2 separate regions of the Homo sapiens genome follow, and region 1 is linked to region 2. The links are contacts of gene promoters, found by promoter capture Hi-C in human tissues and cell types (Jung and others, 2019). All regions are on one chromosome and are shown on one strand. Each heading gives the region's core, a stretch centred on a gene start or on the middle of the fragment in contact. The rest is flanking DNA. Distances are from core to core; before and after follow the strand shown. Region 1 has its middle 54 kb from the start of C3orf49. Region 2 holds the start of C3orf49 (chromosome 3 open reading frame 49).

Region 1 (7,365 bases), core at 19-2,518, 52 kb after region 2:
ATCAAAAAAGAGTCTTTCCCTCTCACCAGATTTGAGCCTTTCCCTGATACGGAAGAGGAAAGACATTTCTCACAGTAATAAATCCCCATTCTTTCTAGTCCCTTCACACCCAACACATTCAAAGGATGTGAATAAAGGATGCTTGTAATAGTGCACAAGTAGTTCAATATATTTTTACAAGCCAGCTAATTAGTATAGTTTTGAGTGTTTATGGATGCAATAAAAATCATTGTATGGCAGAGCTGTAAATGGCACCTGCTCTTGCAACACATGAGTGACGTTCATTGTAGGAAATATAGAGGCTTTAACGTAAATCACCTGTCTTTGTAGAATAGTGCTTCTTAATCTTTCTTGTGGGGCATGAACACTTTTGAGATTCTGATAAGAGCTGTGGATCCTATCCCTTGAAAAATGCACATAACAACACATACCAAAATTCAATGAATGTCACAGATTCTCTGAAGTAAACGTTCTATGAATCCTACGAATCCTAGATTAAATTTTCTTATTTGACACACGTGGCATGGATTTTCAGTAGAGGCAATACCAGCACTCTTCAGAACATGAATTCCACAAGATAATCCACTAAAGAAGAATTCTTTGGTCAAATAAATTTGGGGAGCAAGGCATACCTGGAGATTTATCATATATAATGATATATTGGAGATCTGAAGAAGTCTTGCCAAAAAGAAACCTTTTACCTCTGTTTCATTAGGATTCTACTTTTGACACATTAGCATCTCAAAGAAGATATTTTGGGAGATGCTGGTGAACATAGCTTGGTTTAATACCCATCTGGTGACTTATGAGTTTTGTGATCTTTGTCTAAGAACTGAACTCTGTGAATCTCAGTTTTCTTGCCTGTGAAATGGGGACAATAATACCAATGGCAAATCAGTACCTTTTACAGTAAATGTTAATTATTATTTTACCTTTATTAAAATTTTTCCGTGTTTGCAAGTTTCTTGCTTTTATGTTGAGACATCAAGTTCCTTCTTTTTGACAACTCTGTAATGATAGTTTAAGCTTGTTTGTCTGAAATACAGAGTTCATTTTTGGTAACACACAATATACAAACATTTGGCTGAGGTGAATAAAATGTAATAGCTGCCTTTTTACTTAACCTTTTATAGTTTAAATATACCTTCTTGGGCACGATCTTATTTTGTCTTCATACCCACACTGTGATGTAGGAGATTGAAACTGATGTTATTCCTTTTTTTTTCTTTGATGAGGAAACTGATCCTTGGAGAAATTAAGCTAGTTCAAGGCCTCAGGGTACAGGTGAACCATGAATAACATGGGTTTGAACTGTGAAGGTCCATTTATATACAGATTTTTTTCAACCAAATGCAGATCCAAAATACAGTATTCAGTATGAGAAACCTGCATGTATTAGAGTGGCAACCTTTTGTATTCACAGGTTCTGCAGAGCTGACTGCAGGACTTAAGCATGTGCATGTTTTGTTATATGCCAGGGCCTTGGAACCAGTCCCCGTGTATACTGAGGAACAGCTGTACGTGTTCAAGGCTAAGCCTTGAACGTGATTTTCTGAGTCTCTTTCCCTTCCACTTTCTAGGATATACATTAAAAGCAGAATTGAGAATGTCACATGCTGGGTTGAGAATGACACGCCAACAAACTCTCTAATGGAGGAGACTGTACCCATGAAAAATGCAATAAACTATCTTGTGTGAAATATATAATTGTATATTTTAAATGATGTATATAAATACATGCATATTTCTACTATACAAAACAAAATATACCATGCAATACATTATGTATTTTTCACTAAATTGCTTTGGCTAGCACCAAAATTTATTTTGGTTCCTTGAGAATGCAGTCTGGGAGCAGGGGTTGCTTGGGAGCACAGAGAATCCCACTGCAGTTTCAAAATTCCTTGCTAAGCCTGTTCCTGGGGGGACGGGGAGCTTGTTTGTGGAATAAAACTACAACAACAAAGCATTTATTCAGTGTTCAATTTCACAGCAACTGTGACCTTCATTGTGAAGGTTGCTCCTGCCAGTGACTTCAGCCCTGTATTTAAAGCTGCACACTATTCATTCTCTGTTCCGGAAACGTTGGGAGGTAAGAGATTCCCCAAGTCTATGGTGTTGAAACATGCAGAAGGAAACACCTACCACATTTCAAATGAATGGCCAGTGGAAAAAAGCATATACATTTACAAAATGCAAGCAAATAAGAGAGCATTATGGAATCCCAGACACTCAAGAACAAGGCACTTTTCGTTGGTAACACCTTCAGTGTATCATTTTGATGGCTCCCCGAAGACTTCCTTAACATTTGATGACGTAGGATTTTTGTAATAAAAAATTACACAATACTAATTTTATTCCATTTATCTTCCCCCTTGCCTCTAAATTAGATCTAAATGCAAAGAAGGTAGAAACGATGTGCTCATTGTCCACGCAATTCAATCCTGTGAATGTCTGGGGTCATGATTTTAGGTCCAGAGTCAAGATCTTAGTCAGGGTTCTTTTTCAGCCATTTATTACATATTAAGTAGGACACATTTGTTAGTATAGATCAAGGAACGTTAAATTTAGAAGAGACAGCAGAGGTCCTACTTGTATCTTCTGTCATCTAAGAGAGGAACACATCCTTTCTTCAGCATCTCTTTCAGGTTTGACTTGAATACTTCAAGGGATGGATGGAACCAGTTGTGTGCTAGAGTTGAATCATACTGGCTTGCAAGATCCAATTGTTAAATCTGCAGGAATTTGATAACCTGATTATTAATAATATTCTTAAAAATAAATTAATAAACTTAGTTATAAAAGTTATGTTAAAAGTTAGTAAATGCTAAAAACTCAGTACTTCTTAATTATGTTACTACATTTTACTATTATATTTGCCTTGAGGTTATTCACATCTGTTGGGACTGAATGGTGAAATTCCATAAATAGAATGGTGAAATTCCATAGATAGAATGGCATGCTACTGCATTTCTCTTTCCAAGTTAGCAATAATTATTGAAAATTTAAAATTGAAAATGGTGAGAGCATTTATACCATAGAAATCAACAAACATTACATATTAAAACTTGATTCATAGTTTTTAAAAAAAATTATCTTGTCTTAAGAAATTGATAGAGAAAATGTTAATAATACAGATTAAATGTAAAAGTCTGACTGGATTAAGAAAATGTGGCACATATACACCATGGAATACTATGCAGCCATAAAAAATGATGAGTTCATGTCCTTTGTAGGGACATGGATGAAATTGGAAATCATCATTCTCAGTAAACTATTGCAAGGACAAAAAAACCAAACATCACATGTTCTCACTCATAGATGGGAATTGAACAATGAGAACACACGGACAGAGGAAGGGGAACATCACACTCTGGGGACTGTTGTGGGGTGGGGGGAGGGGGGAGGGATAGCATTAGGAGATATACCTAATGCTAAATGACGAGTTAATGGGTGCAGCACACCAGCATGGCACATGTATACATATGTAACTAACCTGCACATTGTGCACATGTACCCTAAAACTTAAAGTATAAAAAAAAAAAGGTCTGAGATTATTGTTGTGAGTGCACAAAAATTGTGGAAATAGTCTTCTAGCAATCAAAAACTGTTTTCCAATTCAGCAAATAAGCCATTCCCATCATTGATGAGCTAGTGAAGTTCTGCCACGGCTTCACTTTCACCTTACTCTTTAATACAAAGGAAAATATCAACTAACATTCATGTTGGCACTACTCATTTGTCATTTGCAATCATAGTGTGGCAATGTGTAGGACAGTTTGTGAATCAGTGAAAGCATTCTATGAAAATCAATTGTCTATATGGAAATTTACAATACAGAGTATTTTATATCTCATCGTTAACTGTAAATTTTACATTCCCTATCTTTTATATCAGTAAAATTTATAACAAACATATATTTATGTGAATATGTGTGTGCATGCACACGCACGCATGTGCGCGCGCACACACACACACCAGTTTTTTTTCAGAGAGTTGGTTTTTAAACATTTGCCAGCATAACACTGGGTGGAACCCACACTACTTCAAGCCAGCTTATTTCCTTGCCAGACAACTGCAAATGTTGAGAGACTAGGAAATCAAACGTTAGACAAATGTTCTGAGGAAAGACTGGAAAATCAAAAGCCCACACATTTGAATTTCTTTCTTTCTCTCTTTTCCTTTCTTTCTTCTTTTCTTTCTTTCTTCCTTCCTTTCTTTCTTATTTTTCTTTCTTTCTTTCCCTCTTTCCTTTTTCCTTTTTCCTTCCTTCCTCCCTCTCTCTCTCCTTCCTCTCTCTCTCCTTCCTCCCTCTCTCTCTCCTTCCTCCCTCTCTCTCTCCTTCCTCCCTCTCTCTCTCCTTCCTCCCTCTCTCTCTCCTCCCTCCCTGTCTCTCTCCTTCCTCCCTCTCTCCTTCCTTCCTTCCTTTCCTCCACCTCCTCCTCCTTCTTCTTTTTCTTCTTCTTCTCCTTCTCCTTTGTCTTCTAGTTCTTCTTCTTCTTCTTCTTCTTCTTCTTCTTCTTCTTCTTCTTCTTCTTCTTCTTCTTCTTCTTCTTCTTCTCCTTCTTCTTCTCCTCCTCCTCCTTCTCCTTCTTCTCCTTCTCCTTCTCCTCTTATTTCTTTCTCTCTCTCTCTCTTTCTTTTCTTTCTTTCCTTCTTTCTTTTTCCTTCCTTCCTTCCTTCCTTCCTTCCTTCCTTCCTTCCTTCCTTCCTTCCTTCTTTCTTTCTTCTCACTCTGTTGCCTAGGCTGGGGTGCAGTGGTGCAATCACATTTCACTGCAGCCTAACCCTCTTAGGTTCAAGCAATCATCCCATCTCAGCCTCCCAAGTAGCTAGGACTACAGGTGCACACCATCATGCCCAGCTAATTTTTGTATTTTTTGTAGAGATTAAGTTTTGCCATGTTTGCCAGGCTGCTCTTGAACTCCTGGGTTCAATCAATCCTCCTGCCTCCACCTCCCAAAGTGCTGGGATTACAGGCATGAACCACTGTATCTGGGCTGTACTTGGATTTCATTTCTTTGTTTTTCTCACTGTGCAGCTTTGGAGAAGTTCTTAACGTCTCTGTGAAATAAATACACACCTATTATATCCTGGTTCTGGAATATAATACAGTCTGATTTTGCAATATGTGACCAGACAATCCAGAAAAGTTACATATAAATTGAATGTATTGTAAACAGGATTCTGGTCCCCTCTCACCCCCCCATTCTGCCTATGGGCTTTTGGAAGTACTCAATATTGATTTTTGAGTAATCTTTTATTGATAGAGCCTCATTACAATGACTTCTTTCCTTTCTTCATATTCTTCCATTTCTCTGTGGTGGTCAATAGTGTAATCTTCTAGCTCCAGGGAGTTCTAGAGTTAAAAGAGCATGATGATGAGTCAGAAGTTGAGTAGTTCACAATCATCTAATCATTTCCTGGCTTATAAATCCTAAATATGGAGCAGAGGGTGTGAACATGGGCTTTGAGAATCTCTGGGGGAAAAGCTCCATAGGCTTTATCAAGTTACAAAAGGGATTCCATGACCTCGCAAAGTTAACAGAACCAAACAAGATTTTAAAATAGATACTTGCATTTTTAAAAAAAGATACTATTTTTTTAGAGCAGTTTTAGGTTCACAGGAAAACTGAGGGGAAAGTACAGAGATGTCCTATACACCCCTTCCCCCGCGACATGCAGCTTCCCCCATTATCAACACCCCTTGCCAGAGTGGTGCATTTTTACAATTGATGACTCTACACGGACACATAATTATCACCCAACGTTAACAGTTTACACTGGGGTTCACCCTTGGCATTATATATTCCATGGGTTTGGACAAATGTAAAATGACATGTATCCACCATTTTACGATTATACAGAGTAGTTTCACTATCCTAAAAATTCTGTTCTCTTCCTTTTTATCTCTCCCTTCCCCCAATCCCTAGCAACCACTGATCTTTTTACCATCTCCATAGTTTTGCCTTTGAGACTGGCATTTTTAAAAATGCCATTTTAGGAGAAGCAAGTGTTTCATGTCAGTTTCTTTCCAACTAACTGAAGTTTTCCTGAAATTTAATTTATGTTTGAAGGTAAAACCCTCTAAATGTATTGAACACTTACATGTTTTCTTAAGTGTAATTTAATACTTTATTGATGGCTGAGAAGAAGGATTGAGAATTTTCAGTCATAATATTGTTGATTTGGAACAGCTGAAGGATTCAACCTCTTTTTTTTCACTATGAGGAAATTGGAGTGGAGAAAGAAATGAGTTTATCCAAAGTTACACAGCTAATAAGTAGCAGATGTTGTAGCTAAATGAAAACTTCCAAATTCCTGGTCCAGTTCTCTGTTTAGTATTACAGGCTGGTTTTCTTGGATGCATTTTTATGACTGAGACCAACAGAGATCTGAAAACAAGTTCTGAGAATTCATACAAAGAGTTAAGTGGGTACTGTTTTCCAAATAGTTGTCTAGTGACTTGCTCTCCCAGACAGAGGACTCCTAGGTCTTTAAAAGGGAGCACACTGATATAGCAAAAAACTATGGGAGCTAGAGCTATATAGAACTAGATTTAAAGCGGACTCTGTTACTGCTAGTTAAATGACTCAAAGCAAGTCACATAATCTCTATGTGTCTTCAAGTTCTCATCTGTAAAATAAAGATTGCAATAATTATTTTATGAATTAAGAGGAGGATTAGCACACCATTGCAAATAATAATCACTATCATTTATTGAGTGCTTACAATGTAGAATGTGCCAGAACTTTTCCCGTTCTTTTCTTTTCTTTTTTTTTTAAAACAAACAAACAAACAAACTCTCTTCATCTTCCCCAGCAGAGTACATAAACCGAGTAAATTTAGTACATAAACAGAGTACATAAACTGAGTAAATTTAGGTGAGAGTTGTTCTTTGAGATGATGTCTTATCTCAAATGAGATGTCTCATCTCAAATGATGTCCATCAGAGGAGATAAATCTTCACAATCAGTGGAAATTTGCTTTAAAGGAGGAAATTGGGAAGGTAAAACTACTCAGAAAATGAACTATCCTAGTAATATCAAAGGTTTAGCCTATAGACTTTGAGGACATTTTAAAAAATCCATTAATGTGGAAGTCTTTTTCATGCTGTGTGGATTAGCACAGAAAATTTGAGTGTATTTGAGAACTACATGAGTTTTTCTCCCCCCAAATTATGGAAATTTATAATATTTATAGTAAATTTTTTCTAAAGGTAAGTGATAAATTCACAAACACTTCTAGAGGGGGTTAGCAATAGGCAAAAATATTTCTTTATCAGAAATTATTTAGAAGAGAATACATGATAATTAAATCACACTGGGTTGCAAGTCACAAAGCAAAATATATTTTATTTCCAAT
Region 2 (6,814 bases), core at 699-3,198:
ATATATGGGAAGTGGTTCAGTGACAGCCTAGACACTGGAGTTGAATGGTATTGGTTTAACTCAGGACAATTCCTAACTCTGTGACCTTGGGCATGTCATGTAACCTCTATAAGCTTTGGTCTTCTCATTTGAAAATGGGCATAATCTTTTCAGAATTATGAAAATAAAAGGAAATAATTCATGTGTTTGGAACCTTAAAAAGCATTCCATAAATGATACTTTTTATTACCATGTGGATCAGAACAGTGGGGAAAAGCCATTAACTTATGGGGAAAATCCATTAACTTAAAAGGCAAGCAGGGAGCCCACACTAGAGGGCAAAATAAGGGAGAAGCTAGCAGCCTCCCTTCTGGGACCAAGGGCAGGGTTCTGCAAAATGTACATATATGACTTCTAGGGGGTGCTATTCAATTTCATCCTTAGACTTGTGTATAGTTATTATAATGATTTTCTGGCAGATGGCAGTAAAATGTCCTGAGGAGGGAGCACCATTTCCTAATTCACCCAGAGATAACTTATGGGTAGGATTAATCTCCCGTAGACCCCTCTGAGACTCCTTTAATAATAATTTAATTTTTAAGTGATTCTACTACTATAAACATGTACACACATACACATACTGTGACACAGAACAATGCAAATACAGTTTCAGGAGATTCAGGAATTTTGAAGACCACCCATGTTAAAAGCCCAGTTCTAAGTGGTCTCAGAATCTCTAGAAGGTGTTTCCCATTCCCATCCTCCCCACTCTCATCCCCAATCTATCTAGAACATAATTAACAAAGGTGATTTAGCTCCAGAGCCTAGGAACACACTGCTGCAATTTCTGATATGAGCAGAACCCTCCCCTTCTTAAGTTTTTAAATATTTTTGTGTTGGTACTGAATTTATTTGGTTGTATTGCTTCCCCCGGAGTGCCTACTTTTCATTGAAAGTGGAAATCTCTGCAGTATTTTATTTTGTCCATGGAAGTTCACAAGCTTGGTCTTTGATGCTTCCAGGACTCATTAAAACACCTCACTTCTACATGTCTGAACTATAGCCCATGGACCTGGTAAGAGAGAAGCCCAAAGAAATTGGAAAATAAATCACCACACTGACTTTCCAAATTAAAATATATTATATTTTGGATGTTTCATACCTGTCTATATGGTTTTGTCATTGGCAAAAAAATAGCAAGTCTAAGGCAGTTTTAACGTTACATTAAACAATGTGTCCATAGTGAAATGTGATTAGTACATATTTCAGCAGCCCAAATTGCTGGGATAGGAGAAAGAAAGCACTGATCGTGGACCTATTTCGAAGAATGCACTAATGACTTTTCAAAATAATAGTATTTTCACGGGATGTGAGATGTCCAAAATTCTGATGCTGAAATATCAACATAGGATCAGAACTTATTTTAGTCTCCTATGCCACATTGAAACTTAATTTCGAGTGGAAAGGAAAGGTTTTCCCTGTTACAATTAAGATGTTTCTGATCATAAAATGAAGCTTACATTGTCACACTAGATTTCTTGATCCAACGCAGTACCCTCCCCGCCAATCCATCCAGAGTCCTCATTCCTAAATGCAATGCTTAAAAGGACATGCCACTATGCCAAACCCAAAGACTCTCATTTGACAGAAAAGGAAATGAATCTCTGTTACCTTTCTATCCCCTTCCTTTTGAATGAGCCATTTTTCTTCTTGAGTTGCTGGAATCTTCGGCACTGTCCAACTTTTCTGTAGGCAATCTTAAAGGGTTCTGGTAGATACAGCTGAGGTTGGGCCATTGCTCTCAACTTCACCTGTAGTAGCCGTTTTGGATTGTTTTAGTTCTTGAACTTACAGACTTCAATACAAAATCATCCAGTGACTGAATGTACTGTCAAGGTGTGGGCTATTCGGAATAAAATATGTAGGAAATTTTTAGAGTCTTTCCCTTATTCCCTTCCAGGTGTTAGAGACATTATTTGTGGGACTGGCCCTGTTTACAACTTCACAGAGGTCACCAGTGATGTATTTGACAGAGCTGTGTGAAATTCCATGGACCTTTGTGGAACACTTCACAGATTCTTGAACAAGGCAAATACAGAAATGATGATCTGATTGCCTCAATGCTGGCATTTGGATAGAAAAAAAAAATCAAACAACAACAACAACAACAAAAAACACCCACACACTAATTGACCACCACATTCAGAAGTGCGTATTTGAACTCTGAAGTGGTAGGGACCTATAGGAATACCAACGATACGCTGATTAACACAAGTTGAGCTTCTGTTAGATCTCTCAGTTACAGCTGGTGAATGTTCTCTGTGTCCTGTGGGACACATATGACAAGGCCAGTTGTTGTTTGGACATCTCAAAATGTACCCCAAGGGTGGTTTTCATTACATCTTGGAATTTTGCAGTGGTCTCTCAAAGTACATTGCTAAATTGAGGACCTGATCCACCCCTCCCTTCCAACATTGCCCCATTTATTTCGTGGTGAAGAGCGAATTCTGCCTGTGATGGAACTTCTCACCACAAGGTGGCAGCAGACACTAGGATTTATTCCTGTTACCCTCTCGCGGTTTGAGTTGTTCAGTCAAATAACTAGATGCTTAACAAGAAAAACTCCTCTAGAAAGGTTCTGGGAGTTACAAGAATTACTCTGCTTTCTGTGTTTGCATTAATCAATAATCTGGAGCATACTTCTCAAGCTTTCAAGTGCACACAAACTTCCTGGAGGTCTTTTTAAGATGCAGATTTCGATACAGTACATCTGGGCTGGGATCCAAGAATTTGCACTCCTAACAAACCCGCAGGTGACGCTGATGATGCCAGACTGCACTTGGAGTAGTGAGGGTCTTGTATGTTTCAGTACTGGGGAAAAGAGCTTTAAAATGGTCTAGAATGAAGTGTATAATGTTAAGGGGCTAAGAGAGTGGATTTGGGAATTATGCATGAGTTCTCATTTCTAGCTTAGCTATGTGACCTTGGCCAATTCATTTTAACCCACCCATGCTTGTTTTCTCATCCCTAAAGTGGGACAACTCATAGTGCCCAAGCCATAGTTTTATGGCAAAATTCAAGTGAAATAGAAATTCCGCTTCAGCAGGGAATGAGACCCAGGAATCCATATTCTAGGAGAGTGGGTGCAGATGTTCCTCTGTCCCTTATTTGAGAAACGCTGAAGTAGAGCATATCTAATATGCCTTGGCCAAATGGACATATGCTCCTCCCTGGTCTGTTTTTCCTCATCTGTTGGCATCCTCAGAGCACAATAAATAATAGGTGCTTGAATAAATGAATACATGAATATTTTCTTTAGCAACAGGGCAATATTTTTCATGCAATTATTGGCACTCCTGCCTTAATTCTGTTGTATTTCATCAATTATCTAGATGAATGAGATGAATTTTATGCTAGGAAAGACAGCTGTTTTTTATTTGTGCATGGGTGTCTATGTACATGTCTCTGTGTGTGCATGTCTGCATGTATGTGTGTATGTAATAGGCTGAAACACTTGCTGCTGTGGCATCTGTGACAAAACTTGTAGGTTCCCAAAGGAGTCCTGAAGCAGATGACAGAACTAGAAGGAGTGGGAAGGGGGTGGGGAAAGAGTTAGAGTATAGAGAGACATCAATTTTGAGCTGTGTCTGGATTTACATTCTAGATCTACCCCTTCCAAGCTTATGGGTCCTTGGGCGGGTAACGAAAACCTCTTTGGACCTTCATTTTCTCGTTCGTAAAACAGGAGTAATAACTGCTACCTCCCAAGCTTCTTTGAGTCATTCAGTTATTTAACAAATATTTGAATGCCTAGTGGTTCCCAGGCACCACCCTAGACACCACCCTAGACACCAGGGATACTGCAGTGAACAACATACACAAAATCTCTGAACTCATATAACTTAATATGCTGTGGGAGATGCAGGTAACAAGGAAATGAACATTTTAATTTCAGCTGGTAGTAAATGTTATGAAAAAAGTAAAAGAGGATGATGGGATAGAGTGACTGAGGATGAGGAGTGACTTTAGATGGAGCGTTAGGAAAGCCTGTCCAATGAGGTCATTGGTCCTGAATGCTGAACGGGGAAAAGAGCCAATCGTGTGAAAATTTGTGTGACCCAGGCAGATGAAACAGCATGTGCCAAAGCCCGGAGGTGGAAGAAGCCCAGTGTCTTTGAAAATGTGGAAGAAAGCGGTCAGGTGCGATGGCTCACGCCTGTAATCCCAGCACTTTGGGAGGCCGAGGTGGGTGGATCACGAGAGCAGGAGATCGAGAACATCCTGCCTAACGTGGTGAAACCCCCATCTCTACTAAAAATACAAAAAAATTAGCCGGGCGTGGTAACGGGTGCCTGTAGTCCCAGCTACTCAGGAGGTTGAGGCAGGAGAATGGCGTGAACACGGGAGGCAGAGCTTGCAGTGAGCCGAGATCGCGCCACTGCACTCCAGCCTGGGCGACAGAGCAAGATTCTGTCTCACAAAAAAAAAAAAAAAAAAAGAAAAGAAAAGAAAATGTGGAAGAAAGCTAGGGTGGCTGGAGCAAAGAGGTAGATGTGTGTGATAAGCTGGAGGGAGGACCAAATCTCTTGAGTCCTATAGATCAAATTAAAGGTTTTGGTCTTGATCTTCAGAGCAATGGGGAGTTGTTGAGGTTTTTTTGGTTTGTTTGTTGTTGTTGTTGTTGTTTAAACAGCATCTTACTCTGTCACCCAGGCTGGAGTGCAGTGGCACCACGCTCACTGCAACCTCTACCTTCTGGGTTCAAGCGATTCTTGTGCCTCCTGAGTAGCTGGGGTTACAGGCACGTGCCACCACGCCCAGCTAATTTTTTGTATTTTTAGTAGAGACGAGGTTTCACCGTGTTGCTCAGGCTGGTCTGGAACTCCTGAGCTCAGGTGATCCACCTGCCTCAGCCTCCCAAAGTGCTGGGATTACAGCCTTACTGAGGGTTTTTAGGGAACTTGTTCATATATTTATTCAGGGAAATGGAATTCAGTTGTGAAGAAAATGACTAAAATCCTTGCCCAGGAATTACAATTCTAGTGGAGGACACAGACACCAATATGTTAACCAATAGAAAATTGTTTCAGGTACTGACAAAGTATGCTATGAGACAAATAGAAAAAAAAAAACAAAATCAACAAAGAAAAAAGAATTAAAAATAAATAAATAAAAAGAAAAACAGGCCAGGCATGGTGGCTCATGCCTGTAATCCCGGCACTTTGAGAGGCCGAGGCAGGCAGATCACGAGGTCAAGAGATCGAGACCATCCTGGCCAACACGGTGAAACCCCGTCTCTACTAAAAATAGAAAAATTAGCTGGGCATGGTGGCACACGCCTGTATCCCAGCTACTCAGGAGGACGAGGGAGGAGAACCTCCCGGCTTCACGCCTCCTCGCTTGAACCCAGGAGGCAGAGGATGCAGTGAGCTGAGATCAGGCCACTGCACTCCAGCCTGGCGACAGAGCAAGACTCTGTCAAAAAAAAAAAAAAAAGAAAGAAAAGAAAAGAAAAAAACAAACAAATAAAAAGTAGAAAAACGTGGTAGAAAGTGACTGGGAGTGGGCACTCCTCCAAAATCATCAAGAAAGATCTCTTAAGGAGGTGGTGTTTGAAGTGAGACATTTAATGTTGAAAAAGAGACAAACTATGCTGAGATCTGGGAGAGGTATTTCAAAGACAGAAAACGACATGAGCAAAGGTTCACATGCAGGTGCAAACCAGGCATGTCTGAGGGCAGGAAGAAGAGCAATGTGGTGGGAACATAGGTGACATGGGGAAGGCATAGTTATGCATACGTTTTTAAAATGTTGCTGTGTGCAGCTTGGAGAATACATTGGAGAGGAAAAAGTGAGTGTTGAAAAGTCATTAGGTAGGCACTTGGTCCAGGCCGGCAACAGATGGGGGTGAGGAGTACCAGAAGTGTGCAGATCCAGGCAATATTTAAGAAGTTAAATACTGAAATGAATTGGGATATGGGGGAGATACAGTTTGGATATGTGTCCCTGAAATGAACTGGGATATAGGGGATGATACAGTTTGGATATGTGTCCCTGCCCAAATCTCATATTGAAATGTAATTGCCAGTGTTGAAGGTGGGGCCTGGTGGGAAGTGATTGGATCATGGGGCAGTTTCTCACCCATGGTTTTGTGGCATCCCCTGTTACTGTCCTCGTGATAGCAAGTGAGTTCTTGCAAGATCTGGTTGTTTAAAAGTGCGTGGCACTCCCTGCTCTCTCTCTTGCCCCTGCTTTCACGTAGTGATGTGCAAGCTCCCACTTCGCCTTCAGCCAGGATTGTGAGCTTCCAGAGGCCTCCCAAAAAACAGATGCTGGTGCCATGCTTCCTGTACAGCCTGCAGAACCATGAGTCAATTAAACCTTTTTTTTAGTAAATTACCCAGTCTTGGGTATTTCTTTATAGTAATGCAAGAACAGCCTACTATAGGGGGTGAGTAGAGAAGAGATACTCAGTTGGGGTGTTAAGTTGTTGCTGTAGTCCAAGGGTTTAACTAAAGGGGGAACAGTGGAACTAAGGAGAAGGGCACCCATTCAGGAGTCCCCCATCAGTCAACTCTCTTTATCAACCACCCTTCACAGGACATGGCTTGGAGCTATCCCTGTGTGATCATTCCCCGGACATTTGTAAATGTCCCTCTGAAAAGCCAAAAAGCCAGCTGTAGCAGGACAAAATCTGGTCAAAACACAATCTCCCTTGTTCTTAACAGTATTCTTCCTTTGAACATGTCTGAGATTGCATAATCCTATTCAGGTAACCATGACAACAGTTGACTCCTATTGAGATAGCAATTGATTGAAACCTCTAAGTCAGAGA

Evidence for each region. The method cuts DNA at HindIII sites, captures the fragments that hold promoters and counts their contacts. A contact is called where the count stands out against the background at its distance.
Region 1: a contact is called between a fragment that was not itself captured here and the fragment with the promoter of C3orf49 in region 2, in 1 of the 25 tissues and cell types used here (mesendoderm cells).

The regions. Positions count from the first base shown.
Region 1 is chr3:63,761,400-63,768,764 of GRCh38, reverse strand. It overlaps the pseudogene CDHR18P. Among named protein-coding and RNA genes, the nearest start is that of C3orf49, 54 kb to the left of the region's middle. The HindIII fragment of the contact is 5,986 bases long and covers 1-4,261 here.
Region 2 is chr3:63,814,433-63,821,246 of GRCh38, reverse strand. It overlaps C3orf49 (chromosome 3 open reading frame 49), which reads right to left and starts at 1,948. Exons shown (of 7, transcript NM_001355236.2): 1 at 1,651-1,948. The coding sequence starts at 1,775. RefSeq lists a silencer at 2,482-2,601. The HindIII fragment of the contact is 1,936 bases long and covers 1,238-3,173 here.